4 separate regions of the Homo sapiens genome follow, and regions 1, 2 and 4 are each linked to region 3. The links are contacts of gene promoters, found by promoter capture Hi-C in blood cells and fetal thymus (Javierre and others, 2016). All regions are on one chromosome and are shown on one strand. Each heading gives the region's core, a stretch centred on a gene start or on the middle of the fragment in contact. The rest is flanking DNA. Distances are from core to core; before and after follow the strand shown. Region 1 overlaps TXNRD1 (thioredoxin reductase 1). Region 2 overlaps TXNRD1 (thioredoxin reductase 1). Region 3 holds the start of C12orf75 (chromosome 12 open reading frame 75). Region 4 holds the start of HCFC2 (host cell factor C2).

Evidence for each region. The method cuts DNA at HindIII sites, captures the fragments that hold promoters and counts their contacts. A CHiCAGO score of 5 or more calls a contact.
Region 1: a contact is called between a fragment that was not itself captured here and the fragment with the promoter of C12orf75 in region 3, in 1 of 17 cell types (total B cells). The highest score is 5.5, in total B cells.
Region 2: a contact is called between a fragment that was not itself captured here and the fragment with the promoter of C12orf75 in region 3, in 1 of 17 cell types (total B cells). The highest score is 5.5, in total B cells.
Region 4: the fragment with the promoter of HCFC2 here is called in contact with the fragment with the promoter of C12orf75 in region 3 in 11 of 17 cell types (fetal thymus, non-activated CD4 T cells, total B cells and 8 more); the score reaches 18.9 in fetal thymus.

What each region holds. Positions count from the first base shown.
Region 1 is chr12:104,217,987-104,224,849 of GRCh38, forward strand. The region is part of intron 1 of TXNRD1 (thioredoxin reductase 1); the gene reads left to right. Among named protein-coding and RNA genes, the nearest start is that of TXNRD1, 5.6 kb to the left of the region's middle. RefSeq lists an enhancer at 1,460-1,604 and a cis regulatory region at 1,527-1,537. The HindIII fragment of the contact is 204 bases long and covers 2,011-2,214 here.
Region 2 is chr12:104,282,506-104,289,376 of GRCh38, forward strand. It overlaps TXNRD1 (thioredoxin reductase 1), which reads left to right. Exons shown (of 17, transcript NM_001093771.3): 4 at 6,426-6,535. Among named protein-coding and RNA genes, the nearest start is that of TXNRD1-AS1, 5.1 kb to the left of the region's middle. RefSeq lists enhancers at 3,728-4,927, 4,220-4,767, 4,293-4,462, 4,417-4,796, 4,768-5,313 and 3 more and a silencer at 6,274-6,403. The HindIII fragment of the contact is 1,252 bases long and covers 4,823-6,074 here.
Region 3 is chr12:105,326,188-105,333,108 of GRCh38, forward strand. C12orf75 (chromosome 12 open reading frame 75) reads left to right here and starts at 4,504. Exons shown (of 6, transcript NM_001145199.2): 1 at 4,504-4,750. The coding sequence starts at 4,705. C12orf75-AS1 (C12orf75 antisense RNA 1) reads right to left here and starts at 830. Exons shown (of 3, transcript NR_131986.1): 1 at 717-830. RefSeq lists enhancers at 1,147-1,196, 5,586-6,129 and silencers at 4,140-4,799, 4,830-4,929. The HindIII fragment of the contact is 8,522 bases long and covers 1-6,921 here.
Region 4 is chr12:104,060,996-104,067,770 of GRCh38, forward strand. HCFC2 (host cell factor C2) reads left to right here and starts at 3,536. Exons shown (of 15, transcript NM_013320.3): 1 at 3,536-3,728; 2 at 5,172-5,320. The coding sequence starts at 3,566. It also overlaps a transcript of GLT8D2 not described here. RefSeq lists an enhancer at 1,570-1,739, a cis regulatory region at 1,655 and silencers at 3,063-3,222, 3,232-3,401, 3,383-3,552, 3,773-3,912. The HindIII fragment of the contact is 6,452 bases long and covers 2,976-6,775 here.

The DNA.
Region 1 (6,863 bases), core at 863-3,362, 1.1 Mb before region 3:
CACACACACACACACAAAATGGAATATATATACACACACACACCACATTTTTTTTTTCCCGAGATGGAGTCTTGCTCTATCGCCAGGCTGGAGTGCCGTGGCATGATCTTGGCTCACCACAATCTCCGCCTCCTGGGTTCAAGCAATTCTCCTCCCTCAGTCTCCCAAATAGCTGGGATTACAGGCCCGCCACCATGCCCAGCTAATCTTTGTATTTTTAGTAGTGACGGGGTTTCACCATGTTGGCCAGGCTGGTCTTGAACTCTTGACCTCGTGATCTTCCCGCCTCAGCCTCCCAAAGTGCTGGGATTACAGGCTTGAGCCACCACGCCCGGCCTGAACTATTTTATAATACAGAAAAGCTCACTCGTTATAATACAACTTGCTAAATTTTTACAAACGAAGTATATGCATGCAGCCCACACTCAGCTGAGGAAATAAACGTTTCCAGTACCCCAGGAGCCCCTCTAATGTCTCTTACCCCCATACCAAGGGCAAACACTACTCTGATTTCTAACAGCATAGAAGAATTTCACCTATTTACATTTACTTTTTGAAACTTAAATTTAGGCATATTTTAAGCATTAATCTATTAAAGCACGGCTTTATACTAGGTATTTTTCTTTTTCTTTTCTTTCTTTTTTTTTTTGAAATAGGGTCTTGCTCTGTTGCCCAGGCTGGAGTGCAGTGGCCCAATCATAGCTCATTGCAGCCTCAACCGCCTGGTCTTAAACAATCCTCCCACCTCAGCCTCCTGTGTGGTAAAGTGTGCCACCAAGCCCAGCTAATTTTTTTACATTTTGTAGAGATGAGGTCTTGCCATGTTGCCCAGGCTGGTCTCAAACTTCTGGGCTCAAGTGATCTTCCCACCTTGGCCTCCCAGAGTGCTGGGATTACAGGTGTGAGCCACTGTACCCAGCCTAGATATTTTTCTATACACATACATATATACATAATGATGATTATTATTTTTCTAGAGATGGGTCTCACTCTGTTGCCTAGATTAGAGTGCAGTGGCATGAATCATAGCTCACTGAAACTGAACTGCTGGGCTCAAGTAATCCTCCTGCCTCAGCTTCCTGAGTAGCTAGGATTACAGGGACACACCACCATGCCTAGCCTCAATTTTAAATTTTTTGTAGAGATAGGTCTCACTAAGCAACAGCCCCATCTGATCTCGAACACCTGGCCTCAAGTGATCCTCCTGCCTCAGCCTCCCAAAGTATACTGCACCAGGCCCATATTATACATAACTATTGACATTAAAAATGTTCTTTTGTGTGTCACCTACAAACACTCTAGAAGCCACCTTCCTTAAGTACCATATGATCTCTAAGTTCCTTCTCAAATTAAAATTATGTGGTTAAGTTTCAAGAAACTAATTTCTTAATGATGCAGAAGGTTTTGCTTGAATGACTCTTCAACCGAGCATCTATTATTTATCAGGCACTGGGAACTCAGGGATAAACAAGGCATGATCTCAGTCCTTGAACATAGAGTCTCGTGGAGAAGAATGGCGTAGAAAATGCAGTGTCATGATGTGTAATCATAAAAGTAGATGGGTACACACCACTTCAGGAGAATGGCAGAGGGAGTTAACATCTTGGCACTTAGCATTTAGTATTTCTTCTGTAACACACATTCCATTCTATTTTAATGAGCTTGCAAACATTTTTCCTGCTGGATTTTTGAGGATCAGGAATGTGTTTTGTTCACTATCTTATCTCCTACAGTCCTTGGCATACTGCCCTACAAATCAGTAAATGTGTTTATATGACTCATATGGCAAAAGGCAATTTTTTTTTTTTTAATAAGTGAGGAATGTTCCAAAAGCCAATGCTATTAACATTGACCAGCTTCTTCTAGTAAGGAGAGGAGACAGTATTTTTTCAAAGTGCGGTCCTAAGACCACCTGCAAGAGAATTAATTACATGCTGGGAATGTGTAGATTAAAAACTCATTTTCCTGTTCTCCATTTCAGACCTACTAAATCAGCCTCAGAGTGAAGGAAGCTTCATTTTTGGTGTCTCAAGTGATTCTATTTGAACCAAGGCCTGAGAACACTGCAGTGAGGTGTTTAGGCCAGCGTCAAATCACCTATTTCTGGGCAGAGGTGCCTATCCTTAGCAATGGGGCTGAGGCTGGGGTGGAGGTTGCTACTGCAGATCACTGAGGCTGATAAGGGTGAGTCAGATGCCCCAAGAGGAAATTGAAAGCTTTGGAATGGAACCAAAGATCGTGACTGACATGCAGTCATGCAATCTGCAATCAGAAGTTAGTATTACACGATGCGCTAGATAATTGTAGAGTAATCTTGCTTTTTGTTGATTTTAACCAGGTAATTTAAAGTCATTACTCATTATTTGGATTTTCACATTTGAATGTTTACTCTTTGTATTAATGTGTACTGAGTATTTAAAGCTTTTAAATTAGCTTTTTTAAAAAGTGTATTTTAGGCCAGGTGCGGTAGATCATGCCTGTAATCCCAGCACTTTGGGAGGCCAAGGCGGGTGGATCATCTGAGGTCAGGAGTTCGAGACCAGTCTGGCCAACATGGTGAAACCCCATCTCTACTAAAAAAATACAAAATTAGCTGGGCGTGGTAGCACACACCTGTAATCCCAGCTACTCAGGAGGCTGAGGCAGGAGAATTGCTTTAATCCAGGAGGCAGAGGTTGCAGTGAGCTGAGGTCGTGCCATTGCACTCCAGCCTGGGTGATGAGAACGAAACTCCGTCTCCAAAAAAAAAAAAACGGTGGGGGGGAGGCGGTATTTTAGATTTACAGTTGGATTAAATCCTTGAAAGAACTCAAAAGAAGGAATTAATCTGTTAATGCCTTTTCTTTACCTTCATAAAACATCAGGGAATATTTCATGAATATTCCTTATATCCTACTTTCTAGCTCTGAGCATTACTTTGCTGGTAGAAACTAGTCTACATGTATATAACTATAAATGACTATCACAAATCACTCTTTGATGTTAAAAACAAACTATCTGGCTGGTTGTGGTGGCTCATGCCTGTATTCCTGGCACTTTGGGAGGCCCAGCTGGGAGGATTGCTTGACACCAGGAGTTCAAGACCAGCCTGGGCAACAAAGTGAGCCTCAGTCTCTGCAAAAACAAATAGCTGGGCATGGTGGCGTGCGCCTGTTAGTCACACCTGCTCAGGAGGTTAAGGTGGGAGGATCGCATGAGCGTGGGAGGTCGAGGCTGCAGTGAGCCATGATCAGGCTACTGCACTCCAGCCTGGGTAACAGAGGGAGACCCTGTCTCAGAAAAACAGCAACAAATCTACCTGTTGGGTTTTTCGTTTGTTTGGATTTTTATTTTATTTTATTTTATTTTGAGACGGAGTTTCACTCTTGTTGCCCAGGCTGGAGTGCATTGGCATGATCTTGGCTCACTGCAAACTCCATCTCCTGGGTTCAAGCGATTCTCCTGCCTCAGCCTCCCAAGTAGCTGGGATTACAGGCATGCACCACAACGCCCGACTAATTTTGTATTTTTTGTAAAGACAAGGGTTTCTCCATGTTGGTCAGGTTGGTCTCCAACTCCTGACCTCAGGTGATCTGCCCACCTCAGCCTCCCAAAGTGCTGAGATTATAGGCATGAGCCACCGCTCCCGGCCACCTGTTGGTTTTAGTGGTAGTGCAGTGGTTTTCAGCTTTCAACATTCAAGTACGCTCCCAACTTTGACAAATATAGAAAAGTTATTTTTGCCACAATTTAGTGTGTTTATGGAAGGTGTATACAGAAACTTCAGATGACAGTGTCTGTTAGATGAAAAACTGAGCTGGGCAGGTGGTGGGAAGTTGTATAGACCCAGAAATAACTTGTTATGGGAAGAATTAAGAGGCCACAATTAATGGGTTGAAAATTAAAAATCTGCAGGGACAGGCAGGTCATATAAATGAGTGACCCAGGCAGGTAGTAAACAGCAGGGAGTGGTGGAGACTGGGGTGGACTGAGGAGAGAATGCTGTACAGACAGGGCAATTTCTACTGAGCTTCCCTTTCTTTGGGTGGGAAAATGAGTGTAGTGTGGCCAGACCTGCTTTTTTTCAAGAGAAACTAGAAATCTCTATTTATCATTTTTGTGACTTCCCCAGCTTGTGAATGTCAGCAGTAATGCAATTAAGCAAAATACTGAGGGTCAAACAAGATGTGATTGCAGGTAAATATGGTCTGTGAATGTGTAGAATAATGTCAAGCTGGCACACATTTAAAAAATGAGAAAAAGATGGTGTCTTTTGAATGTATAGAAGTGGCTGGGACAGAAAACAGTTTTTCTTAGATAGTAACACAGTGCAGAGAAGTGTCTGAGTGAACAGTGTAAATGACCGCTGTCAAAGTATGGTTTTCGAAACGTTAAAAATATGATCTTGTACAGAAAAAAAAACAGGTATCAAAACTTAGTCATTAATTAAACCAATAAATGAAAGAACCAATAAAATGGTAAAGCTAATTTAAAGGCAAATTCAAGGACTAGGGACATATAATCAAAGAAATGATGAATTGAATTTGCTAGTACAGTAGTTACAAAGCTGGTTAATGTCTCACAGAGCAATAAAACTAACTTTTGGGCCAGATGCAGTGGCTCATGCCTGTAATCCCAGCACTTTGGGAGACTGAGGCAGGCAGATCACTTGAGGTCAGGAGTTCGAGACCAGTCTGGCGAACATGGTGAAACCTCATCTGTACTAAAAGTACAAAAATTAGCCAGGTGGTGGCATGCGCATGTAATCCCAGCTACTCAGGAAGCTGAGGCAGGAGAATCACTTGAACCTGAGAGGCGGAGGTTGCAGTGAGCCGAGATTGCACTGCTGCACTCCAGCCTGGGTGAAATAGTGAGACTCTGTCTCAAAAAACAAACAAACAAACAAAACTAACTTTTGGGATTATTGAGCAGAAATGTACGAGTTAACATGAAACTTCAGTGTCTAGGCTGTAATAAAATAGTAAACAGCAAAGTCAAGTACAGATACACTCTCTTAAGAAAATTAAATGATCCTTGGGTGGGCTTGTTAAACATGGTCCAGTATGACATTGAAAGGACATTTAGTCAACTTCTTTCTTTACTTCCAAGTTTGGACATTTTTCTTAAGATTGTGGATATTACAGTGTAGCTATGGCTGCCTTGAGATTATTGCTCACTTATATAGTGGCATTTTAAGCTGCTTAATCCCCTCAAATGTGCTGCCAAAATTCTACTTTTTCAAGTATGTGCAGCAGCTTTTCTCAAGTATGTGCATTTAAACTTTTAAAAATGTTTAAAACAACTGTGAGCAAATCGAAGGCTTGCTGCACTCTATATAGGGTCAATGTTTCATTAAGTGCTTTATCACAAAGATTTGTTTAGAAGTGGGCACAAGGCTCTTGGTCATCAAATTCGTTTTAGGTTTAGAGAAGTAATCTTACCTCTTGGAGCAAGAGCTAGATTTCACTCTTTTATGTATAGAGTGAGATCAAGGAAGAAGGGGAATAGAAGGAATAGAACTTAGCAAACAGCTCCCCACTCCCAAGTCAAGTTTGTTAGAAATGTAACACTGGACTACCATTGTTGGGAGACCAAGGAGCATGGTTTCGCTGTACCATTCCTTTCACGGGATTCCATGGGATCTTTCTAGATGTGCTGGACTGGTAAAAATCCTTACCTGTGGGAAGGGAGGGTGTGTCCAGTTGAAGCAGAATAAAAGGAAAGCTAAACCGGGAGGTGACCCTTGATCAAGCACTGGGAAAAAGTGGTAAAAGCTCTTGAATCACTCACTGAGAGGCAGCTGAAGGTGGGGACTGGTGAGGAGGGAGCATGAACTGCTGCATCTGGCAGCCAGCTTTGGGGACCAGTGGCTGGTGCAGACTTGCTAAGGAGTGCTAATGGTGTTTATTAAAACAACAACAAAAGCAATTTAGTTACTCTGGCCCTGGGTGTGGGCAGAGTAGTGTGGGAAGGGGAGAGGGCAGATTGCAAAGGAAATATATGTGAGATTGTTTCTTTTTGCATAGGCACTGATGCATAACCATTCGCACTGGATTAGTCAAAGCTGTAACTCCTGATGAAATTTCTTTAAGGATGAAGGACGTGTGACAAGTTTAGGTCTCCTTTTAAGCTTGTGGCACAAGTTTTTTTTCCCCTGTTCCCTGACCTTGCCAGACTCCCTCACTCATCTGTTCATGAATGGTTGTTCTCTTTTACCTAAAATATCCTTCCTTCTCTTTGCTGGGCAAACTCTCCTCACACATCAAGACCCAGTCCAAATGACAGTTTTGTAATTCCCCAAGTAGAGATAGTTTTGCCCTTTCTGGACATCTGTGGCTCTTCTCATTTTTTTTGTAGGACATATAGTGTATTGTGTAGCATTCTATTAGACTGGGCTCCTGGGGGTAAGGATGTCTTGTTTATTTTTTATTTATGTTTTTTTGAAACAGAGTCTTGCTCTGTCCCCAGGCTAGAGTGCAGTGGCGCAATCTCGGCTCACTGCAACCTCTGCCTCCCAGGTTGAGGCAATTCTTCTGCCTCAGCCTCCCGAGTAGCTGGGATTACAGGTGGCCACCACACCCAGCTAATTTTTGTTTTTTTAGTAAAGACGGGGTTTCACCATGTTGGCCAGGTTGGTCTCAAACTCCTGACCTTGTGATCTGCCTGCCTTGGACTCCCAAAGTGCTGGGATTATAGGCATGAGCCACCGCACCTATAGCTGTCTTGTTTAGAGTTGAATTTCCTGTTTGGGATAGTTCATGGCACATAGTAGATGCTCGGTAAATGTTCAAATATAGTTGTGTCAAGTTATTCCCTCCTGATTTTCTCCCCCACTGTTTGATCAACCCAGGAATCTCTTTCCCCCTTGGAAACTTCTTTTATCT
Region 2 (6,871 bases), core at 4,199-6,698, 1.0 Mb before region 3:
GTTCCCTCATAGCACTGTGGGCTCTGCTCAAGCATCACATTCTGAGATCTTTCCTGACTTCCCTACCCTACTTTATTCTTCTTCAAGGTACAAAGAACTCTTTCAGAAAAGCTTTGTGTGTGTGTGTGAAGGAGAGCAATGAAATGGGGTGGTGGTAACTGCAAGGGTTGGGGCACATGGGATCATGAGAGCCTTTTCTTTCTTTTTGGGAACAGTTTTGCTCTGTCATCCAGGCTGAAGAGCAGTGGCATGATCATGGCTTACTGCAGCCTCAAACTCCTGGGCTCAAGTGATCCTCCCACCTCAGCTTTCCAAGTAGCTAGGACTACAGGCAGGTACCACCACACCTGGCTGACTTTTATAATTTTTTTTGTAGAGACAAGGTCTTGCTATGTTGTACACACTAGTCTTGAACTGCTGGCCTGAAGCAATCCTCCTGCCTCAGCCTCCCAACATGCTGGGATTACAAGTGTAAGTTACTGCACCAGGTCGGGAGGCTTTTTTAAAATGGTAAAACAACAATGCATTTGTATGATGATGTAAATGATCAGGTAGAGAACAAGCAATTGATGATGCCAGAGAGGGAGGCTAACTTCAAGAGTGATGTTCATTAATATTAAGAAGGAAATAAAAGATGAGAATCCATACACAAGTGAAGTTGGACTTCACTATTCTCCACATAACAGCAATTCTTTGAATGTACAACAATCATTTCCTTCTCTTCTCTTCACACTGTCTTTTTTGTTTTTGTTTTTGTTTTTTTGAGACGGAGTCTTGCTCTTGTTGTCCAGGCTGGAGTACAATGGCATGATCTCGGCTCACCGCAACTTCCGTCTCCTGGGTTCAAGCGATTCTCCTGCCTCAACCTCCTGAGTAGCTGAGATTACAGGCGCCCACCACCATGCCCAGCTAATTTTTGTATTTTTAGTAGAGACGGGGTTTCACCATGTTGGCCAGGCTGGCCTCGCACTCCTGACCTCGTAATCCACCTGCCTCCGCCTCCCAAAGTGTTGGGATTTCAGCCGTGAGCCATTGCACCCGGCCTCACACTCTGGCTTCTTAACACATTTAAAATGAAATCCAGGCTGGGTGCAGTGGCTCACACCTGTAATCCCAGCACTTTGGGAGGCCGAGGCAGGCGGATCACCTGTAGTTGGGAGTTGGAGGCCAGCCTGACCAACATGGAGAAACCCCGTCTATACTAAAAATACAAAATTAGCCAGGCGTGGTGGCACATGCCTATAATCCCATCTACTCAGGAGGCTGAGGCAGGAGAATCACTGGAACCTGAGAGGCGGAGGCTGCGGTGAGCCGAGATAGTGCCATTGCCCTCCAGCCAGGGCAACAAGAACAAAACTCTCTCTCTCAAAATAAATAAATAAATAAAAATAAAATGAAATCCAAAATCCTGACTGTGGCCTGATAATGGGTCTGACCTCTGGCTACTCCTGACTTCACTACCTACCACTTTTTTTCTCATCAGGAAATAATAAGAGTGAAGGCAGAGAATATGGCAGCTTGCTGGTTAAGGGAGTTCTGTCTGATTGATGCTATTTTCTTAAAGTAGAAAGTAGGTCATGAGCTAATGCAAGGTGTAGGGGCATTAGAAGTTTGAGGAAAGAGGGATACGTGTGAAATGGTCATTTTGGATCCTGAGAAAACAAATATTCCAGGGATGCAAAGGATTGCTGGGCAACCTTGAGGATACATTTGAAGTTTGTGGTCTTAACTTTAAAGTGAAATCACTTTTAATTTCTGTGTTTCCTTCAGCAATGTTTCCTGCTTTAAGTGGAGTACAGAATATGTGGACAGCTAGGTTCAGCAAGGGTGGGCCTTGCCATGTCAACGCGACTGAGAAGCTTGGACTTCATATTGAGGGCCCTAGAGAGCTACTGAAGGTTTGAGTAAAGAAGATTTAGGTGTTAGAAAGATCATTCTAGCTCAGTATGGTGTGTGTGTGTGTATGAGAGAAAGGCTTATTATAGGTAGAACAGTAGTTTAATACAATAGGAGCCTTTATCAAACACCTGCATAAATTTGTTATAGCTTAGATGACAGTTCAGGAACATAGAGAGGTCTATTTCCAGCATTTTCTGAGTACCTACTATATACCAGATTCTGTAAAGACAAAATAAACAAGGGTTTGCCTATCCAAAGCTCTTGTAGAAGATTTGTAATTATTATTAGGTATTTGGGGGACAAAGAAGAGGGAAGGAGCAATTAACACTGGGTGAAAATCCAGGAAGACTCCCAGAGGAGGTGACATTTCAGATGAGCTTTGAAGGACTAGGCCCTTAGGGAGGGAAGATAATTCTGAAAAGGAAGAATGAGCCCAGTCAAGAGATGCGAAATGTATGATTAAAACATTTTATGTTTATGATTTGCTACGGCCAGGCACAGTGGCTCACACCTGTAATCCCAGCACTTTGGGAGGCTGAAGCAGACGGATCCCTTGAGGCTAGGAGTTTGACCATCCTGGCCAACGTGTTGAAACCCCATTTCTACTAAAAATACAAAAAATTAGCCAGGTGTGGTGGTGCATGCCTGTAGTCCCAGCTACTTGGGAGGCTGAGGCATGAGAATCGCTGGAAGCAGGGAGGTGGAGGTTGCAGTGAGCTGAGATGCGCCACTGCACTCCAGCCAGAGCAACAGAGCAAGAGACTGTCAAACAAACAAACAAACAAACAAATAAATAAATAAATTGCTGCATGATGAGAAATGGTGGAAGAAGATGAGGTTCTTCTTCCATTAACCAGCAACTAAATAGAACTAAGGAGTTTTTCCTCTAGAATTCACGACAAGGGTAAGGCATCTGGGCTCTTAACAGCAGCAAGAAGGATTTGAAAGAAAAGAAGATGGTTTTAAAATGGTGATTTTAATTTAAAGAAAAATAACTACATGGTGCTACTCTGGGCATCTTTGCTATAATTTGCTCACTTAGGAACAATGTGAAGTTAAAATGCCTTATCTAGCCTGTTTTGGAATGCCGTTAGAAAATATTAATTATAATCACTCTGAGCTGTCTATACAAGATGCTTTTAATGGCAAGCCTCTTCAAATCAATCCTTATTACTTGCTTTTAGTACATTATTTCAAGTTAAATGATCCTTCTGTGTCCTAAGTCATGCTTTTGAAATAAGGTGTATTTTCAATATATTTCTAAGAATGAGGAGTTTATGACCCTGGTTCATGGGTCATTCGGTAGACTAAATGAGATAAAGGCATATAAAATTATTAATACAGAACTTGGCTTGGGAGCCAGGAGTAAATGTTTTTTGTTCTCCCTTAGACCCAGTCTTTTCATGTTTTTCCTTCTTTCCTCCTTAAATCACATTGTTTCCTCAACACCCACGTACTAGATCCATTCTCTGTTCTAGGGACTCCAGAATCAGGTGAAACACTCATGTCAATAATCAAACACTCATGTCAATAATCACCTTACAGGGGAAGTGTCAAGTTAGTGTGTGTAGTGTGTGTGTGTGCCCATTTAGAGGGTGAAGAAGCTAAATCAAGCCTCTGAGTTTCACCTTGGAAGGGCCTGGCAGGACCTGGCAGTGGTTGCCTGTTTGTTTAGAGGGAGTGTGGCTTCTGCTGGCTGTTAGGAGCCCGCAACGCTCTCAGCTGAGAGTGCTTCAATCTGGCATTATCCAAAGAAGTGGGAAAGACATTCCTTCCTTCCTTCCTTCATTCAGTTATTATGTATTTATTCAGCAAATATTCATAGCCTGCTAGTGCACAGTGCTGAATAAGAACATGAGTAAGAGCAGGGAAGCATGAGAGAGCATGGCTCACCTTAGTAGCTGCAGGTGGCTGGGTGCAGCTGGAGTTAAAAGACACTCTGAGTTTTTCTTAAAAAAAACAATAAATACCAAACTTAGAATCTAATAAGGAAGAGGTGCTCTCAGGGGAAGTTAGGTGTGTTCCTAAGAATTTGTCATTTCTTTTCAGGATTAGTCAGGATGAACTAGACATTTCTTTTCAAAAGCCTAATAACTTCCTTTAGGGAACTGCCAAACTGACTAATCCATGACCTTAAGGCAGTGGGTCCCAAACTTTGCTGCCAACTCAATCACCTTTGGAGTTTTTTTTTTTTTTTTAAACGCAGAGGCCCAGGTCACACTCCACACCAATGACATCAGAATGTCTAGGGGTGGGAGCCAGGCACCAGGATTCTAAAGACCCTCACGTGATGACAACAGCTAGCAAAGTTCTGTAGCTACTGCCTTAGGGCATAGTCTAATTTCTTCAGTAAAAACACACTTATTCCAAATTTGGTTCCAGAATTGCCTTAAATTGTTTTTGCTCTGTTCTTAGGTTGGGGGCGGCTATGAGCAGGCAGAGGATGTGGTGTCACCCAATTAGGAGCTCTCAGCTTACGAGGCAATTAGCATAGGTTGCCAGGGCTGCACGAGGAGTGGATTTCTGCTTTGTCATTCTGACTCTGGCAGTTAGCCCGCCCGCTCGGCGCAGGGCGTGGCTTCTCGTAGCCATTAGGAAACAGCAACCCTTTCACCTCAGTTTTCTTCACTCCGGCATTTGCAGCAGAGCGAAAGGTGGTCGAGTCCTGAAGGAGGGCCTGATGTCTTCATCATTCTCAAATTCTTGTAAGCTCTGCGTCGGGTGAAACCAGACAAAGCCGCGAGCCCAGGGATGGGAGCACGCGGGGGACGGCCTGCCGGCGGGGACGACAGCATTGCGCCTGGGTGCAGCAGTGTGCGTCTCGGGGAAGGGAAGATATTTTAAGGCGTGTCTGAGCAGACGGGGAGGCTTTTCCAAACCCAGGCAGCTTCGTGGCGTGTGCGGTTTCGACCCGGTCACACAAAGCTTCAGCATGTCATGTGGTAGGTGAGGCCGGCGCCTGTAGGCTGGCGGTTTCCTTCCTCTTGGTCTTTGTAGAGACAGTTTGCAGAACAGCGGAGAAAATGGGTATTGTATCGTTTCTTACAGAGTCCGAGTCTTGAAATGTAGATGACAATGTGTTGAGTGGACTGACAGATCCTTGAGAATATTAAGAAAGTATAACTATGTAAGAATGCTTCTCTAGGAATTTTCACACCATTTAATCCTCAGAAATCCTGAGACGTTGGCAAAACACATGGGGTCTCCATGTTTTTACAAGTAGGGAAAGCAAGGCTCAGAAAGATCAAGTGGCGTGCCCAGCTGGACACAGACTATTAAATGGGGCGGCGACGACGACCCCAGGGCTTCCTCACTCTCTCAGGCAGTACAGGACAGTGATTAAACGCGTCGACCACATTGCCTGGGTTTGAATCCTGCCGCTGCTTTTGAGTAGCTCCTTGAGCTTGGACAAGTTTCTTAGCTTTTCTGTACCTGTTTCCCTGTCTGTAAGTTGGGCCTGGTAATACTTACTTGTAGAGTGGTTGTGAAGTTGAAATGTAAATATATGTGAAGCAGTATAGACATGTTAGCTACTATTATTACAATTAAGCAGCTATACTTTGTTTTTTGTTTTTTGTTGGTTTTTTTTGTTTGTTTGTTTTTTGAGACGGAGTCTCATTCTGTCGCCCAGGCTGGAGTGCAGTGGCACGATCTGGGCTCACTGCAACCTTCGCCCCCTGGGTTCAAGCGATTCTCCTGCCTCAGCCTCCTGAGTAGCTGGGATTACAGGCACCTGCCACCGCGCCCGACTAATTTTTGTATTTTTAGTAGAGACAGGGTTTCACCATCTTGGCCAGGCTGGTCTTGAACTCCTGACCTCATGATCCACCCGCCTCGGCCTCCCAAATAAGCAGCTATACTTTTGAATGTTGGCGTGATTTATGTCTAATGAATAGGCCTCATGTCAGTGTAACTGTGGAATCTGTATGTTCCACTGAGTTCACCCCTTTGTGAAATTTTACCATTAGTGCCTAGTTTCATCTGTAGCGTTGTGTATTGCTTCAGGATTCTTTTTAAGAATGCACCAGGTAGGCAGAGTGTTCTTAATTTTGCTCCACGGTTTCAAATGTCAAGGAAACGTTGGAAGTTGGATTTTGGCATTCAGTATAGATGCAGAGTTGAAAGCAAGATCAAACTGGGAGGTGTTTTGTGAAAGTTGAGATAAACGTGTATTAAGCTTCTTTTTTGAAGCTTTTCTGAATTCGGGATTTACCGGGAAAGTAGGACGTTTAATTTTAGCGGAGTAGTGCAATGATTTAACCCTGACTAGAACTCTGACGTTTACAGCTAGCCTTGAGGCCATGTTTTCAGCCAGTGTGCGGATTTGCCGGGGTCAGACTCCAAGCTTGATTGTGAGTTCTAGCCTTTGTCAGAAATGCAGCAAGTCATGCTAACTTGCAAGGGAGTCAACAGAGGGCACGCGGTGCCTGCGGGGCCGGGACGGAAGCCCCGCCCCCGGCGCAGTTCCCGCCTGTTAGCGGGGGAGAAGCACCTTACACGCTCCGCTCTGCTTTTGTGCCACACAGAGGACGGTCGGGCCCTGGAAGGAACGCTCTCGGAATTGGCCGCGGAAACCGATCTGCCCGTTGTGTTTGTGAAACAGAGAAAGATAGGCGGCCATGGTCCAACCTTGAAGGTAGGAGAGAGTAACGTATCTTTTTAAACGGGGGATGAGCTCGTTGAGCTCAGCGTGGTCACAGCCTGCCTTTTAAAGCCAGCGTGGATGTGACCCTCCAAACGGGACGCAGCGCTGGGAAATGACGAAAAACGCTCGTGGGCTAGCGCATGTGTTAATCGAAGTTGATGAGACGTTGGACAAATTTCACATCTCGGGAAACTTGAAATTTCTAACGCTTTTTATCTTTTAAAATAGCTTTTTAAAAATGTCCTTTTTCTCCTATTTCCCCTTCCTCTTTCCCTCCCAGTTGTAAATAACATTTTTTAGCAGCAATGTAATCTGCTAAATGTTAGT
Region 3 (6,921 bases), core at 3,254-5,753:
CCAGCAGAGCCCCAATTTTTTCAGGTGTCTATCCTGCACTTCCATCATGACTCAAGGGTAAACTGTAACTTACTAGAGCCAATTATAACCAATTTCCAGTAATTGGATCAAGAAAAGGCCAATGAAATCTTGGCTAATGCAATGGGAGAGGAAGTGTTCTGGGTGCCACCTGGATTTAAAAGTGACACAGGCTGGCGCAATGGCTGACGCCTGTAATCCCAACACTTTGGGAGGCCGAGGCAAGTGGATCACCTGAGGCTAGGAGTTCGAGACCACCCTGGCCAACATGGTGAAACCCCATCACTACTAAAAATACAAAATTAGCTGGGCGTGGTGGTGCATACCTGTAATCCCAGCTACTGGAGAGGCTGAGGCAGGAGAATCACTTGAAACCAGGAGGCAGAGGTTGTAGTGAGCCGAGATCCCACCACCGCACTCCAACCTGCCTGGGTAACAAGAGCGAAACTCCATTTCAAAAAAAAAAAAAAAAAAAAAGTGACACAGTGTGGGGAAGAGCCTCTTTTCTCTTTTCTGTTGGTGGGTATGGTTATGTATGAAGTTGCTACCGGGTGCTGAGGCAGCCATCCTGCAGCATGTCAAGAGGGAAAAAGAGAAAAGCAAAAAGAAAATCTAGGCTGCCAGACTTTTTGTGGGGAGCCCTTCATGGGAAGAAAAATCATGAAAACTTAGACTTACTCAGGTTTATATTCTCCTACCTCTTGCTTTCTTTTTCTTGTCAGATGAATTTCACTCATACACCTCTTCTCTCTCCTTCATGCCAGATCAGTTCTGTTTGGAAGAATGAAAATGACAGCTAAGTGGTGTGATCTAACTGACACAGGGAAAGAAGCTGAAATTGACCACTCAGGAAATGAGGCATGTGTTAATGATTTTCTTTTGACTCATTGTTTTTAAAAACATCCACATGCAATCAACTGTTGTCTATAAAATAAAATAAAATTCCTAAAAAGGAAAAAGGGGACATAGACTTGCTATTTCATTCCACATTAGGAAGAGGACTAACATTTATTGGGTACTTACTATATGCCTGACATTTTACTAGGAACTTTTCATACTCTGTCTCACCAAATGACCTTGCTTGCCCTTTGAATAAAATTTTAACTCCTTTCCACGGTGTATGTTCTGACCCCCTCTCTGAAATCCGCACCCTCCCCATCTCTACTCCACAGATGGGCCTTTGAATTCTGGCTTTTTTTTAAAATTCCCTCTTATTTATGAAACACACCTAGCACGTTCCTGCCTCAGGGCTCCTGTTCTTGTCATTCTCTTTGCCTGGAATCCTCTTTCCTTGGATCTTCCCATGTCTGATTTCTTTTTTTTTTTTTTTCTTTTTTTTTTTTTTGAGACAAGAGTCTCGCTCTGTCACCCAGGCTGGAGTGCAGTGGTGTGATCTTGGCTCACTGCAAGCTCCGCCTGCCAGGTTCATGCCATTCTCCGGCCTCAGCTTCCTGAGTAGCTGGGACTACAGGTGCCCGCCACCACGCCTGGCTAATTTTTTGTATTTTTAGTAGAGATGGGGTTTCACCGTGTTAGCCAGGATGGTCTCGATTTCCTGACCTTGTGATCTGCCCTCCTCGGCCTCTGAAAGTGCTGGGATTACAGGTGTGAGCCACCGCACCCGGCCAATGTCTGATTTCTTTACATCAACCACACCTCACAAAAATATCCTTTCTTCAGAGGGCCTTCTGTGACCATTCTATTAGGTTAGTGCAAAAGTAATCGCAGTTTTTGCCATTAAAAGTAATAGCAAAAACTGTGATTACTTTTGCACCAACCTTATATCTAGAATAGCACCTCTCCCTCTACTCCTAGTCTCCTATTCCAGTGACTTATTTTTTCCCATCGCACTTGTATCTAAAATTATCTGATTGTATTTGCTTTGATGTATCTCCTCCCACTTGATTTTTCCTCTCTCTCTTGTTCACTGCTGTCTCTCAAACATTTAGAAGAGTGGCTGGCACTTTAAAAACAGATTGGGGGTACAAGTGCATTTTTGTTACACGGATGTATTGGGTGGTGGTGAAGTCTGGGCTTTTAGTGTAACCATCACCCAAATAGTGTACATTGTACCCAACAGGTAAGTCCTCATGGCTGGAGCTCTTAAGGTGATACTCAATAGTGCTTGTTGAAATAATGGATAGATCACATAATCTATAACATTATAGGGCAGAATGCACACTACGAGGAACCATGAGATATCTCAGTAAGTGAGTGTTAGAAAAGAACCTACAGGATTTAGGTTCATAATAGGTGATTTTGGTTGGGATTTAAGGAAGCAGAACTTTTTTTTTTTTCTACATTGGATATTGTCAGGAAGCAGGGACAATTCTATGATTAGAGATTCTTAATGAACCTCATCTCTAGGCAGGAAGACAAGAACAGGGCTAAAACCATAACTGGTAAAGCAGCAGCAGACAATCCTATCAGGCAGGATGGGGAGATGTTTGGTGTTTTGGGGGTTTGCACAATGACCTTGTTTTTGTCAGCACTTAGACAAGATTACCGAGTCACCTTGTTTTTTGTCTCATTTCATAGTTTATAGAGTGGCCTTGTGTGATATTGGTGTTCTATGCAACTGTGTTTAACAGGAGAATGCAAAGGCCCAGCTGTTGAGTGTCACAGCTTCTAGGCCAGTTTCTAGGTGTCAAGGTCCATTTTCTGTCTCTTACAAGTGTCCTAAGGCTGGAGTCTAGTGTCAGCACAGAAATAAGCAGGAGAATATCTTTCGGCTACTTGATAGTTCCCTTTTCCCCAGTTCTGGCTATGTATTAGGATGGACACTGAACCAAGACAGCACAGGCTGGTAGAGAAGCAGTACTTCTAGAAGTCAACTAAAAAATGCCTTTATTTATCCAAGAATTAATTATCCTCTCAGCACATGGCTACCACAGCTAATTTTCAAATGGAGAATGCTGTATATTTTGCATCCTGAATGATAGAACGCACCATTGCCTCAAAGGCCATGTTCAAAAACCTGCCAAGTCCTTGATTCTGGTTCATATTTTTATTTTTATGTAAACACAACAGTATGGTTTCAGGGAAGTCTGTTTTTTTTTTGTTTTGTTTTGTTTTTTTGAGACAGAATCTCGCTTTGTCACCCAGGCTTGAGTGCAGTGGTGCTATCTCGGCCCACTGCAACCTCCACCTCTCAGGTTCAAGTGATTCTCTTGCCTCAGCCTCTTAAGTAGCTGGGATTACAGGTGTATGCCACCACACCCAATTAATCTTTGTATTTTTAGTAGAGACAGGGTTTCACCATGTTAGGCTGGTCTCGAACTCCTGACCTCGTGATCCGCCCGTGTCAGCCTCCCAAAGTGCTAGTTTACAGGTGTAAGCTACCATGCCTGGCCTTAGGCAAGTCTTTTAACTAGCATCCCAGCATCCTCTGGGACTCTATGGCACCTGTATTCCTCTGTTAACATTCCTTCTATATTGTAATTAATTTATTTTAATCTATCTGCCTGGTTAGACTGTCTCCCACATATTTGTATCCCCGGAACTTAACAAAGGACTTGGCACAGGCTAGGCTCCCTACAAATATTAAGTGAATTTAAAATGGAGCTTTAATTCCTGGCTTGAAGTCACCTCACAAAACATTTAGTGAGTCTGTATTACAAGCCAGGAGGACGCTATGAAAAATCAGATAGTCTTTCCCTTTAAGGAATTTGTATTCATTTCTATTAGAGTTAATAATAATAATGATAATAGCTGATATTTACTAAAGATAGGGAACTTTGTTAGGTACTTTATATGTACCTGAGTTACTGTCATTTTATAGGTGAAACAAGGGATGTACCCAATGGGTTAAGTTACTTTCCTGAGGTCACGCAGCTATCACGGGGCAGAACGAAGACTTTAACTCAGACAGTCTGACTGCAGTAACGCTGGCCCAACTATCATGTTGAAACGTACAGCACCGTGCCCATCCACAGTTCTCTCATTTATCAGAGAGGAGGTCCTGAATCCAAGTTATTGAAATCGTTGCAGACATTTGTTTTAAAGAGGAATAGGTCAAGATGACCAATCTGGGGAAGAACTTTTGCCAGGCAGTGCGTATGGGGAACAGAGCTGCGTTGGCCTTCTGTTAAAGCAGCTGGGGATTTCGGTTTTGGCTTCAGACCTGCACAACATTCAGTCAATAGCATTTATTGGGCGTCCACTGTGCAGGGTGCCCCCTGCTACTTCCTCTCCTCCCCACATCCTGGGGCAGGGAGGGGAAGTGAGGAAAGAAAAGCAAAGACAAGGCGAGGAGGATGCTGAGGGTGGGCAGGTGGGCACCCCCACCCCGCTGCGCCGGCCACGCCCCTTGCCGCTCCCTCGCCCCGGGGCCCACTTTAAACTCCCGCCCCTCGTAATAACGACCAATGGCCGACCGCGAAGCGCGCAGGAGGCTGGGGATTGGCCAGTGCCGAGGTTGCTGGGGCGACGGGTGGGTCCGGCGGGTCCCCGGGCGGGGCGGGGCCGGGGCGAGGGGTGCCGGGTGGTTTCCGCCCGGCAGCCCGCAGCCCGCTGCGCCCCGGGCCGCGTCTCCCGGCGGTGGGAGGGGGCGGCCCCCACTCGGTTCCTGGCCCCTCGCGGCCCCGTCAGCCTCCCGCTCGGGGTGCGCCGCCCTTCGTCTGGGTCTCCGCCCCCAGGACCCGCGGCCGAGAGCTCCGGAGCGCGGCTTCCCCGGCCGGCTGCGCGATGGGCTGCGGGAACTCCACCGCCACCAGCGCGGGCGCGGGCCAAGGTGAGTCCGGCGGGAGGCGGGGGCCGGCGGGGGCGGGCGGGAGAGGCGGCGGGAAGGAAGGGTGCAGGGATCTTGGGTGGGGGGCGCGCAGCCCCCTCTCCCCGTCCCCATTTTCGGGACAGGAGCAGACCGCCCGTTTCTGGAAAGACCGAAAGCGTGGCAAGTCCCCCGCGCGGGGGCGGTTGCGCCTGGAGCAGTCGAGCCTGCGGGGCGTCTCTGCCGAGGGAGCGCGGGGAGGACTGTCGCGGGCTCCCCTGCAGCCGCCGGGGCTCACCTGCAGCTGGCGGGTCTCAGGGCTCTCCTGGGGGAGAGGATTCCCGGACGTGGTCCCCGGCCGCTCCCCCACCTCCCACACTTGCTCCTCCAGGCCTCTCCCCCATCTCCTCGGAACCAAGGCGCTGCACCTGGAAAAGTGCAGCAGAGCAAGACAGGACTTTTCGGGCAGTGGTGGTGGGGCAGGAAGCGGGGAAGGGTGGGAGTGGGGTTGGGGAGAACTAGAAGCAGAGCTGCAAAAACGCATCTGTGTCTGCCTTGATGCCGAAGACCGGCTGGGCTGCTCTTAGGATTTCTCTGAGAAGCTGCAGCAGTAAGGATGTTTTACATATGTGAGACAGAGCTTTATTATTAACAGTCTGTTAAGATACTTTTCATTAAACACACACACACACACACACACACACACACACAAATAGAAACTTCTTTTTATACCACTTCATGTTGATTGGCAGGCAAGGTCTTCTAGCTTCCCCGGGCCAGCCAGGCTTTGTGTCAAGTGACTTTTGCCAAAACTCACCCTTCTATTTCACCCTGCCTATGTCTCGGGATTTAAGGTACCCTGGATCTGTTTTGAGTAATAACTGCTGACCTATTTCAGTGTCCTTTTGGATAAAGAGCTCCTATCTCCTCCAATTGAAGTCAACCAGATGCCACATCCTAGCCTAACCAGCAAATGCAAACAGCAGTCAGAGGCTGCGGTATTTCCTAGGCGGCTGTGGAGGCCCTGGCAATGACTTTGTAACCTTGGGCCTGTCACATCCCTTAACCCAGACGCCGGTAAAAAATGGAGTTTAAGACTCAATTTGAGTCTTGAATTAAATCCTGTCCTGGTGACAATGCAGAGAGCCACAGGAGAGCGAACTTTTTAGATTCATTTAACAGTGGGGAAGGTTAGTGTAGCACCTTATGCTAATGAGGGCAGACGGGCTTCAAACCTGCCTGTGGCCAGAAAGCTCTGCTTGTATGAAACAATGTCAGGGCCACACCCCGCACTCAAATTGTGTCTCAGTCTACTAGGTACTGTGGCCGTATGCAATCCACTGCATGTGTAGCCTACTTAAAAAAGGTGAAGAAAAGTTATCCACATTAAAAAAAATTGTAGGAAGGATTTGTAGCAGATTTCCCTTAAAATGAGGCTAGTTTCATGCATGTACATTTTGATTTATTAATGAACTGCTTGTCAGTTTTAGGGATGGGGAGGGGGTACCATTGCCAAATGAAAATCAGAATGATGGACCAGGCGCAGTGACTCATGCCTGTGTAATCCCAGCACTTTGGGAGGCTGGGGTGGGTGGATCATCTGAGCTCAGGAACTCGAGACCAGTGTAACCAACATGGTGAAACCCAGTCTCTACTAAAAATACAAAATTAGCTGGGCGTGGTGGCGCCTGCTTGTAATCCCAGCTATTTGGGAGGCTGAGGCACGAGAATTGCTTGAACCTGGGAGGCGGAGGTTGCAGTGAGCTGAGATCGCACCATTGCACTCCAACCTGGGCAACAAGAGTGGAACTCCGCTCCATCTAAAAAAAAAAAAAAAGAAAAGAAAAGAAAATAGAAAGATGGTAAGGTATGATGAGCTAGCTCTAAAATGTTAATGTAAAAATCAAATTTGGGGGGAAAATATGATTTCTTGGGGAAATATGATTATCTTTATGAATATTTGATTGACTTTTTCCCTAGGAGCATCTCTCTTATCACCTAAAGGGAAGTCATATTGAAAAAAAAAAAAAAAGCTACCGAAAGAGTAGTTTGAGGAGCAGCCTCACTTTTGTTTGTGGACAGTGCATGTGAGAGCATGCTATTCTCTCCTCCAGCTTGCTGTTTGCCAAAAATTACTTTTTGTTCAGAGGAGAGAAGGATATTGAGTGCAGATTCAAAACATGCAGGAGACAACA
Region 4 (6,775 bases), core at 2,286-4,785, 1.3 Mb before region 3:
TGGAGTGATTCATTGACAAGTCAAGGGCTGCCATGGATTGACAGCTGCCACCAGAAGCTAGAAAGAGGCATGGAAGCATTCTTTCCTACAGGTTTTGCAGGGATCACAGCCCTACTGACACTTTGATTTCAGACTTATATATCCTTCAGAACTGTGAAACAAAACATTCCTATTGTTTCACAGCAGCCCTAGGAAACTAGTACACATTTCCTCATCACCCTGCAGCTCCCTATCTAAGCCACCAGTTATAGCTTGCAATCTCTTTTGTCTTAAAAATATTTTGCCTTAATTTTTCTCCTAGTTCAAGGGTACTTGGGCTTTCAAATATCATAGACTAGTTTTTTTAAATTTGAAGTTCAACATTAGGGTTGGAACGTTTGATTTTTTCCTTTAACCTTGTGCTATAAGGGCATTAGAAAAAAACTACCATCTAGGCACAAAACTCTCAGAACAAAGTACAGTTCTTTAAATTAAACACTTTGGGTTTTATGAAAAACTCACTGCTTTATTCCAACTCTTCCAGTTTTATTTCAAATCCATAAAAACTTTATTATGGCAACATTTAAGAGCCTCCTATGTTATGTATGTGACATAGAAAAATATTAATAGATAAATATTCATAACCTCTTTTCTGTTCGCAGACATCTTATTTCTCCCTCCCTTTCCAAATTCTCTTTGGACATATTATGAAATTGGGCTGGCCAGGCGCAGTGGTTCATGCCTGTAACCCCAGAACCTTAGGAGACCAAGGTGGGCAGATCACCTGAGGTTGGGAGTTCAAGACTAGCCTGACCAACATGGAGAAACCTCATCCCTACTAAAAATACAGAATTAGCCAGGCGTGGTGGTGCATGCCTGTAATCCCAGCTACTCAGGAGGCTGAGGCAGGAGAATTGCTTGAACCTAGGAGGTGGAGGTTGCAGTGAGCCAATATCGGCGCCATTACACCCCAGCCTGGGCAACAAGAGCAAAACTCCATCTCAAAAAAAAAAAAAAAAATGGGTTAATACTCAGTGAGAGGGAGAATTTAAGAAGCAGAAGCTAAAAAAAATAGTGAGAATTCCTTTTGGGGTTTTTGTTTGTTTGTTTGTTTTTTAGACTGAGTTTTGTTCTTGTTGCCCAGGCTGGAGTGCAATGGCACCATCTTGGCTCACTGCAACCTCTGCCTCCCAGGTTCAAGTGATTCTCCTACCTCAGCCTCCCAAGTAGCTGGGATTACAGGCATGCACCACCACGCCCGGCTAATTTTTGTATTTTTGGTAGAGATGGGTTTCACCATGTTGGCCAGGCTGGTCTCGAACTCCTGACCTCAGGTAATCTGCCCTCCTCGGCCTCTCAAAGTGCTGGGATTACAGGTGTGAGCCACCGCACCCGTCCTGAGAATTCCTTTTTAAAACATAGAGAGTTATCTCTCAAAAAAAGCTTAGATAGATGAGAAGGTGGAGAAGCATGCTGAGGTTTAAGGGAGTTGGGTGAATGAGGCATATAAGAGAAATTGAAAATGGTAAAATAAGAGGAAAAAAGAGTTTTAGGAAATTTACTATACAGTGTCTGTGTTCTCCTTTGAGTACCTCTTGAGAATCTGAGGTAGGGATTTAAATTGCTTTCAATTTTTTCTTCCACTGGACTTGTATCTCTTATTTATCTCTCTTTAATAAAAATAGAGATGGGATCTCACCATCTTGACCGAGCTGGTCTCAAACTCCTGGGATCAGTGGATCCTTCTGTCTCAGCCTCCAAAAGTGCTGGGATTACAGGTGTGAGTCACCATGCCCAGTCCTTTTTCAATTAAAATTTTAAAAAATAACTTGTATTGTGGATATTTAAGATATACAATATGAAGTTGATATCATATAGACCAGGGGTCCCCAGTCCCCAGCAACCAGTCCTCGGCCTGTTCGGAACCCCCATGACCTTCCTGAGCTCTGCCTCCTGTCAGATCAACCGCGCATTAGATTCTCATAGGAGCTCGAACCCTACTGTGAACTGCCCATAGGAGGGATCTAAATTGTGTACTCCCTATGAGAATCTTATGCCTGATGATCTGAGGTGGAACAGTTTCATGCCAAAACCATAGCCCCCATCCCCTTGCCAAGTCCATACCACCCACTCCCCTGCCAAGTCCGTGGAAAAATTGTCTTCCATGAAACCGGTCCCTAGTGCCAAAAAGGTTGGGGACAGCTGAAACAGGCAGTCACAAGGTTACTATAGTGAAGCATATTAACATATCCATCATCTCATATAGTTACCACCAACCCTTTTTGTGTCTCTGTGGCAAGAGTGGCTAAAATCTACTCATTTGGCATGAATCCCATATGCAGTGCAGTTTTATTCCTAATGGACTTGTGTGATTATGTGTAGGACCAAATCACAGGGCAGCTAGGCCTTATTAAGTGTTGCATTGGCTGGGTGCGGTGGCTCATGCCTGTAGTTCCAGCACTTTGGGAGGCCAAGGCAGGAGGATCACTGGAGCCCAGGAGCTCGAGCTTGCAGTGAGCTCTGATCGCGCCACTGCATTCCGGCAACAGAGCCAGACCCTATCTAAAATAAATAAATAAAAATAAAGAGTTGCGTATGACTGCTACCAGAGGCAGTATGGTATAATGGTTGGATATGACTGCTATCAGAGGCAGTATGGTATATGATATAAGGGCTTGGGGGTTCTGGAATCAGAAGCCCTGTGTTGGAATCCTGGCCCCAGTCTTTTTTTTCAACACCTCTCCTTTGTGTCCATCAGAAAATTACCTTACTGCACTGTGCCTCATTTCCCCGTCCATGAAAGGGAGATAACAGGAGCCACCACACTGGATTGCTGGATGGATTACATGAGTTAATACACATGAGGCACTTAGGGCATGCCAGGCTGTGGACAGCCCTCACTTGTTAGCTAGCAATGAAACAGAAACCTAGAAAACCATCTCTCCTCTGCTTAAGCCAAACAAACCAAAAATACCTCTTGTGGCTCACGGTTCCCAAGCTTCCTGGCATGGCTCCGCACAAAGCTGCCTTCGGTTCGCCCGGCAGGCTTTGTAGCGACCTTCCCTGCCCGGGTCCCAGTCACGGTCGGGAGCAGCCGCCGTGGCCCGGGCTCGCGAGGCAGGCTCCCGCCCGCACCCTCCCGTGCGAGGTCCCCGCCCTGCGCTCCCAGCTCTTCGAACCTCTACCCGAGCTTCTCTCACGTTGCTTGTGAGACTGCCTCGCCCACACATCCTAGATGCTCAATTAAAGTGGACGTAAAGGAAGATGCTGTGGCTTCTTCCCAAAATACCGAACGGGAGGCTCTGGGTGGGGATGGGAGACGTGGTCAGTGGGAAGCGTCCTTCCACCCTAAGGTGCGTTGCTCCGGGTGGCCGCTGGCCAAGTCGCCTGGGGTGGGGGCGGGGCTCCCCTGTCAGGACCCCCCTTCCCCAGCGTCTCTCCACTGCCCGCGGGCCTCCAGCCTGGCCGCCGGCGCCCGCGGCCACGTGACCCCAGCACAGCTGGAGGCGGGTCCCCGCCCTCCCCAGGGAGCAGCCGGTTGAGGCGGGAGCGGTGCATTGTGGGCAGAGGGGCGGGGGTTGGGAAGATGGCGGCTCCCAGCCTCCTCAACTGGAGGCGAGTTTCTTCCTTCACGGGGCCGGTCCCCCGCGCCCGGCACGGACACCGAGCGGTGGCCATCCGGGAGCTGATGATCATCTTTGGAGGGGGAAATGAGGGCATCGCGGATGAGCTGCACGTCTACAACACGGGTAGGCGCGGCGGCGGCTCGTCGGCCCCGCCTGCTGGAGCTGCGGAGGGGGAGGGGAGGCGAGGCGGCGGCCGCGGCCCTGACAGCTGTCACCGCCCGGTCACTGCTTCCTTGGGCGGGCGGCGGGGAGCGCGGCTCAGCCGGGCAGCCCGGGTCCGGCAGCTCTGTCCCGGACCGCAGCTCAGGATCTCCGGGGCCCTTGGGGCGCAACGGACCCCGAGCGGGGCGCACCGGCCTTCAGGCGGGGGATCCCGGACGCCCCCACCCCAGCCCGACAGGCGGACGCAGGCGACAGAAGACCATGTCCAACCGCCTGGGCCACTCCCCGAAATCTCGCCTCTGTCAAAAAACAAAACCCACTCCAAACCAAAGTTCCTTAGGGCCTTTCCCGTCTTTGCCTGCCTTCCTTCCTTAGGAGGAAGACCATCTAGGGGGTGAGGAGGGAAAACGAGAGGCCTTCTGGCACTCTCGCCTCAAATACAACCCGGTGTTTGGCAGGTAACGGTCAAGAGCCCCTCCGTGAGCCGCGCTCTAAAGCGGCGGGGACGTGGTGAGGCGGCCTTGTGTCTGCATACTCGGTGTGGACGCCCTTCTGGACTGGCCCTCGGAAAGAGGACTGTCATAACTTGAGCACCACTGCAGATCACAAGTGCCCCTGGGCAGGGAGCCCCTATCTTTGAGGACCTCTGTGGAATAGAAAGGAAACTGGATTTAATTTTTTTTTCCCCTTGTAAATGCTCAGGCTGTCACAAGAAATCTGTTTGGTGTAAAGACAGTGATGGAATTTTGGGTCTACTTCATGACCGATAACTTTTCTTTGATCAAACAACTTAATCACAGGAATAATTTGAAGGTTAACAAAATAGTGGAGTCTGAGAAGTTTTATTTTTTTCACCCTCTCCTCCTCCCAGCGCCCCAGCATATGAAGGTAAAAAGTTACTGACACTTTGGTCTTAGTGTAAAATCCCTGGCTTTGGAACAAATTAGACCTGATTTGAATCTTGCTCTGCCGGTTGCCCAGGATCAGCGCTAAAGTTACCAAACCTTTTTAAGCCTCACAATTTTCAGTTGTAAAATAGAGATTTTTATACTCACCCAGCAGGGCGTTTTGTAAGAATTAAATGATACAGATCAGGGTTTTTCAACAGCAGCACTCTCGACCTTTTGGGCCAGGTAATTCTTTGTTGAGGTTGGGGGAAGCTGCCCTGTATTGCCCTGTACATTGTAAGATGTTTGGCAGCATCCCTGCCTCTACCTACTAGATGCCAGTAACAGCCCCCTCCAGTTGTGACAACTAAAAATGTCACCAGACATTACCAAATGTCTTCTGGGGGGCAGAATCATCCCCAGTTGAGACCCACTGATATTGATGATATATATTTGCTGATAGTATATGATAACCGTTGTTTGTTATAATCGGTTTTCATTTTATTTTGGCAACTAGCTACGAATCAGTGGTTTCTGCCAGCTGTTAGAGGAGATATCCCTCCAGGCTGTGCTGCCCATGGATTTGTCTGTGATGGTACCAGAATATTAGTATTTGGGGGAATGGTTGAATATGGAAGATACAGCAATGAGTTATATGAGTTACAAGTAAGTGTATTTAATATTGTTTCATTCTGAGGCTTTAATAATGATATTGTTCATAATTTTTCAAAAGATTGCAACATTACTAACATTGTTTAACACATTTTAATATTATTCAAGTAATGTATTATTCAAGTAAACTATTATTCAAGTAATATTATTCAAGTAATGTAAACTTCACATTTTATAGCTTTATAGAAAATGTTTCCACTTCACTTAAAACCCAAAGTTTCCTGGCAAGTCTTTTTCCCATACCCAGTGCAACATTTATAACATCAAGATATCTGTTACGTAGCATCAGTTGTACATGTTATATATTTAGGTTTTTGTATCTTAATGCAGTAGAAACTTTAGCCTGCAACAGGAGCGCCTGGAGAACCTGTGAAAACACAGATTGCTGGGTCCTACCCAGAGAGTTTCTGAGTCAGAGGAAGGCCATGAGCATTTGCATTTCTACCAGGTTCCCAGCTGCTGATGCTCCTGGTTTGTTTGTTTAGAGACAGAGTCTTGCTCTGTCACCCAGGCTGGACTGCAGCCGCGCAATCTCGGCTCACTGCAACCTCCGTCTCCTGGGTTCAAGCAATTCTCCTGCCTCAGCCTCCTGAGTAGCTGTGACTACAGGCACGCGCCACCATGCCCAGCTAATTTTTGTATTTTTAGTAGAGACGGGTTTTCACCATGTTGGCCAGGCTGGTCTTGAACTCCTGACCTCAGGTGATCCACCCACCTGGGCCTCCCAAAGTGCTGGGATTAGCCGACGTGAGCCACCGTGCTGTGCCGCAAATTCTTAAGTATTAAGTACTGCAGGACTCACAGAGGGATAGTTGGCATTGGTATCAACTGACATATTCACAACTTTGAATAAAACTTTCCACATTTGGAAAATCACCATGCCTGGCCCCTAGGCTATACTTTGAAAACCACTGCTTTAGTGTTTTAGAAATTGTTACCCTCATACTAATATTTACTACACCCCCCACCTTGACAATACATACAAAAGAGGAGTAACAGTTTCCCATAACCTTTCTAAATTTGAGTCTTATTAAACCAGACTCATAGCCCTTGTTGACTTTTCTTCCTGATCTGTGCCTTATCCCTAGGGCGGTGATCATGCGGGTATCTGCTAATTGGCAGATGTGAGTGGTTATACCTATTTACAAGCAACTCATTGCAAAAATAATTTTAGCTAAAGAAAACATCCATGGCCAGAGAATAAGTTTTGGAATTTGATATGTTAAATGAGCTTTATGTTTACCTTTAAAAGGTTAAAATATTTACCATTCATGGATTACCTTTTTTCAGAAAGTAAGAATATATAAATTACATTTAATCTTGAAGCTATGTATAATACTTTATTTTTCATTTGGAAACTACTTTAGAACAGTTAGTGTTTATTATTATATGCTGAGTTTGCCATGGAAATCTGTGAATATGGAAGAGTAACTTGAATGTCTACTGGAA